2 separate regions of the Homo sapiens genome follow, and region 2 is linked to region 1. Evidence: promoter capture Hi-C in human tissues and cell types (Jung and others, 2019). All regions are on one chromosome and are shown on one strand. The core of a region is centred on a gene start or on the middle of the fragment in contact, and the rest is flanking DNA. Distances in the headings are between cores, read along the strand shown.

What was found. Contacts are between HindIII fragments. The study calls those that stand out against the background at their distance.
Region 2: the fragment with the promoter of BBS1 here is called in contact with a fragment that was not itself captured in region 1 in 2 of the 25 tissues and cell types used here (dorsolateral prefrontal cortex and spleen).

Annotation. Positions count from the first base shown.
Region 1 is chr11:66,637,891-66,640,420 of GRCh38, reverse strand. The region is part of intron 1 of RBM14-RBM4 (RBM14-RBM4 readthrough); the gene reads right to left. RBM4 (RNA binding motif protein 4) reads right to left here and starts at 1,718. Exons shown (of 4, transcript NM_002896.4): 1 at 1,669-1,718; 2 at 298-721. The coding sequence starts at 709. RefSeq lists enhancers at 842-1,553, 1,420-1,789, 1,554-2,267. The HindIII fragment of the contact is 5,623 bases long and covers 1-2,530 here.
Region 2 is chr11:66,509,374-66,511,903 of GRCh38, reverse strand. BBS1 (Bardet-Biedl syndrome 1) reads right to left here and starts at 1,269. Exons shown (of 17, transcript NM_024649.5): 1 at 1,198-1,269; 2 at 815-891; 3 at 665-699. The coding sequence starts at 1,244. DPP3 (dipeptidyl peptidase 3) reads right to left here. Exons shown (of 18, transcript NM_130443.4): 18 at 2,247-2,530. RefSeq lists an enhancer at 1,358-1,407. The HindIII fragment of the contact is 12,258 bases long and covers 1-2,000 here.

The DNA of each region.
Region 1 (2,530 bases), core at 18-2,517:
AAAAAGGCCCAGTAACTCAGAAAGCCTTCAAAGAAAAGGGTTTCTGCACTGATAAGCACAAAAGCCGTAGGGGCTCCAAATAAAAGGTGAGTGGCTTTTCTCCAGGAGACATTTGCCTAAGGTAAAGCCCCTAAGTCCCATGCATTCTACATCATAAGAAGTCCATCACCCACACTTATTTCTTCATCACCAGCCAGCCAACAGCTGTTATCTTTACCAAACCTCTCCTTTTACTTATCCAACCATTTTCTGCACACAGCCTTGTGTTCAGCCCTCTACCCAAAGAGGGTGGTTCACCTTGAAACTCTGTGTTATCAAGGCCCCTGATGGCCTCCACTGCATCCTCTGCCCGCTCCATGTGTACGAAGGCATAATCTTTCACGATGTCACATTCGATGACCGGACCATACTCCTCAAACTTGGCTCGAAGCTCCTTATTGGTGCAGGTGGGACTGATGTTGCCCACATGCAACTTTGTTGAGGTTTTGCTCTTATTCTTGCTGGCTTCCACGTTGATGTTCACCCCATGAAGCTTGTAATGGTGCAGGTTGCGTATGGCATCCTCAGCTGCCGTCTTGTCTTCTATGTGCACAAAGCCGTAATTCTTAATGATGTCACATTCCAGCACCTTCCCATACTGCTCGAAGAGTGAGCGAATCTCCTGCTCTGTAGCCTCCCGGGGCAGGTTTCCGATGAACAGCTTCACCATCCTGACAAGAGCCTGGGAGAGAAAAACAAGACATCTGACAAAAGACCTCAGGCCCACATCCGTTCACAAAAGACAACGACTTTCACTCTAATGTATATTTCCAGTTTTCTCTCTCACACGCCTGCACACACACCTCCACACAATAATCAAATGGAAGTGGGAGTGAACTAAGGCCTGCTATAGTAGCCGCCATGAACCTGTAAGAATAAGAAGACGTCTGCAATAGGGAGGTCCTTAGTAGACAAAGGGTTTGGTAAGAACCGATACCTTCCAACAGAAATGGGCATGAAAGACAGCATATGAAGAAATGGGGGTACTAGGCTTTTCTATCCACTAGGAGGACAACAGAAAACAAAAGTCTACTAGGCTTGCTGACTGCCTGCCTGAAATTATCAACAGGCTTTTCCTCACGTAGGAACCAAAGCAGCCATCATTTCCGGGAAAATGGGCCTTGTAATAGCTACATTTGAGTTTCCTTTGGAAGTAATGAACGCGCGACTCGGATCAGACAGCGAGGAGTGGGAGATAAAGGAAATACTGGAGTGGTGAACGCCTCTCTCGGGGCACCGTCCTAGCTCCTGCCGAACACTGAAATGCGCGGCCGCGGAAAAGAGCTTCAGATTCATTAACCAGACGATGTCTCACGGCCCGAGAAATTCCCGAAACGAGAATGTAACTGTCAGATATAAGGGAAAGGGGGTTATCCCAGTGGAAATCTCGAGGCTCCAAGAGCAGCCATGTCGGGCGCGGGACAGGGTGGGCGAAAAAAAGCAAGGTATTCTCAGGGGGCGGTGGGGGAAGGGCTGCTCCCGGCTTACCGCGCAATGCCGAGGACCGAGGTCGGCTCTCAGTGACGGGTGTGGAGACTGCGGACCTACCAGGACACCCCCGAAGCCCAAGGGAGTGAGAGAAGATTTAACACAGTACAAGAAAGGCAGTGGAAAGGCTCGGAGTCTCACCCGCACAGAAACCAGCAGGGCCTCCTCCTCGCGGCGCGGACGCTTCTGACAAAACGCTAAAATGGCGGCGGCCGCAGCAGTGCTCTGAGTAGAAGGGGGAGGTGAGCCTACAACCGGATTGGCCACTCAAGAAAGTAAAAGGCCGGCGTTCCCTCAGATCCTCTTCCTGATTGGTTACCACGGACGCCAATTACCTAAGAGGCCGGCAAGAGGTGGAAACGTCTGTAACCTCGGAGCTTTTATGCGAAAGCCAATGGGCACCAACCTCGCGAAGCCGAACTCGCTGATTGGGCAAGAGATCAGCGTGAGGGCGGACCTACAAACGTGGGCTTCGCCGGCGGGGTGCGGCCCGCCATTAGGCGGAGCGAGCTAGAGCCCCGGGGTAGCAGTCTTTAGCTTCATGGCGCCAACTTCGTTAAGCTTCCACATTTCGCCACCTCCACGTGCACAGCCAGACAGTATTCCGCGCTCCATTTTGCCGTTCACTCTAGGTGTCTCCCTCTAACCTCCCAAGCACCACCCCCCCTCGCGGCCAGGACGCTGTGGAAATAGCTTATGCAGGCACATGCCAGGGAAGAAAAACAACGAAGACCCCCCCCAACCCACCACCCACCACTTCAGGAAACCAACCTTCTCCTTGGGCCAGCAGTCCACACTGTAGCCTTGAGAGTCCCGGAGCTCCCCCAAAATCAAACCTCTCACAGGTGGTGAAAGGACCTCTGTAATGGCCTTCCAGAAGTAGGCCCGGCAGGAGGCTGCACTGTCCAGGAGACGCTGAGGACAAGTTCCCTCTGGGAACCAGCCTCCCAGGGTCCGCGATGAAGAAACCTTTCTGAGACCATGGAGATTTAAAGTATACCCC
Region 2 (2,530 bases), core at 20-2,519, 130 kb after region 1:
CCTCAGCCTCCCAAGTAGCTGGGATTACAGGTGCCCATCACCATGCCCGGCTAATTTTTGTATTTTTAGTAGAGATGGTGTTTCACCATGTTGGACAGGCTGGTCTCGAATGCCTAAGCTCAAGCGATCCACCCACCTCAGCCTCCCAAAGTGCTGGGATTGCTGGCCTTAAAATTAAATTTAAAATGTAACATTTTTACTATGGAAAATTTTCATTCACATACAAAAGTAGAGAGACTCATATAATGAGTCCCCATATATCCCATTATCCAGCTTCAAAAATTGACAGCTCATGGCCCATCTTAAAATCTTTTGATAAACATCAAACGTTCACTTCCCTCCTTTTTACTTTCCCTCCAGATTCTAGTGCCCACCCCCAACCAAGGGATTTGCCCTTCCAACAAAGAAATCAGGTTAACTAAGAGGCTTTGTCTTAGTAGAATCCCCAGAAATATTTGATCTGCTTTACTTTCTGCAGTCTGTATTATGAAATCAATAAGTTCTCTTCACTTTCCATATAAAAACAAAATTTAACGCTAAATGTGCTTTTTCACAGTATATGTGAATTCCAGAGTATGCTGGGCCTATTTTCAGCCGTCAGGAAATCTCATTTCTGGGTACACCCCCCTACCCTCAACTCTCCTGGCTAGGGTGATATGCTTACCTTGTATTCCCCATCCCCATGTAAATCTGCCAGCGCTGGAAAACAAAAGGGCCAAAACCAGAGTCTCAGAATCCCAGAGGCTTCACTACAGGACCATTGTCTGACTCCCCATCCCACTAGAACCCAGGGTTCCTGGTTCCAGAGACTCACCTAGGCAGGCAGAAAAGGTGTGGATATTGGCCATTGGGTCGTAGTGCGCATCCAACCACTTCGAATTGGCCTCATTGCTGGAAGTGGGGGAAAGACAGTTGGGGAGTGAGTCCCATGGGAGGGGAAAAAAAAACTTTGAGGAAGCTGGTACAGGTCACTCTGAACATAAGGTACAGAACGTCTGGGTACAAGTCCAGGCTCCGCCACTGGCTCACCGAGCGACCTCCAGACACACATATGCACATCTTAGGCCTCGGTTTCCCTATCTGACCTCTTAAGAGTCCTTCCAGACTGCCCGAGAACAGCAGGAGCCCAGAGCCCGGGGACCAAGGGACCCTCTTTACACGGGTGGGAAAAGAGGCCTTGAGGAGCCCTGCCTTCACCTCTCAGCTCCGCAGGCGTCGGAATCCGATGAGGACGCAGCGGCCATCTTCGCAGGCGTCGTCCTGGCAACCGGCCCCGCCCTCGCGTAACGCCCAATAGTGCCCGAGCACAGGGAAGGGCGAGTACAAAGGTTCCGGGCGCCAAGCTTTCCCACCCAGGCTCAGGAGGACGCGCTGGCCACCTTCCTGGGTTGAGGAATCTGTCTCAGATTCCTCAAAGATATTTATCTTTGCTCCTTCCCAGTCAGAGCCACCTTTCCAGGCGTCTGGGTCCTACAATCTCTGGGTCAGCCACAGAGCCCTCTGGCTTCCAGGGTTGGAAAGAAGCCCCTTCTAGCATTTATGAGCAGCAAAAAGAACTCCTCCTGTCTCCATCTTCATGGTTACCCGGTTGAAAAGGACCATGTCCTGCCTTGCTGCGTTACTGTAGAGGTCCAGGCCCAGAGAAACAAAACACGAGGGTTATGGGACAAATGCAGAGGATTCTGACTGAAGTTGAGTTTGTAGGTTCCCAGAACTTTTTTTTTTTTTTTTTTTTTTTGAGACGTAGTCTCGCTCTGTCGCTTGCGCTGGAGCGCAGTAGCGCGATTTCGGCTCACCGCAACCTCCGCCTCCCGGGTTCCAGGGATTCTCCTGCCTCAGCCTCCCGAGTAGCTGGGATTACAGGCGCATGCCACCATGCCCAGCTACTTTATTTTTTAGTAGAGACGAGGTTTCACCATATTGGCCAAGCCGGTCTCGAACTCCTGACCTCGTGATCCCCTCGCCTCGGCCTCCCAAAGTGCTGGGATTACAGGCATGAGCCACCGTGCCCGGCCCCAGAACATTTAAAAATGCAAGGAATGCCACAAAGGAGAGCTGCAAAAATTGTGCTATGTTCAGCTCTGTGACTGCGTATCCTCATCTAGAGATAATGTCAACATCCTGTTGTGGAAGGGAGGCTAAAAATGGCCCTCCTTGCCCCCTCCCCAGGCCTTGAGCCCATCACTCTGCTGGGAGTAAATGAGAAGACAGGCAAAGGCAAGGAGGAGCCACACACGCCGCAAAGATGGTGGTTGTCTCTAATATTTATTTGTCTGGTTATAAAATTAATATGTGAGGAGCATTGGATTTGGTGAGAACGTTTTGAACCCTAGCTGTCACGTGCCACCTGCGGGATCTAGACCAGTGACTTCTCAGAACTGCCATTTCCTCATCTGGTAGACAGGATGGTAAGCCCTGTCTTGCTCACTCCACGTATGGCAGTGCAGATGAAATGAGATCACAGAGGGGAAGCAATTGGCAGGCTGGAAAGTGCTGACAAATGGAAGGGGTTGTGTCACCACCCTCAGCT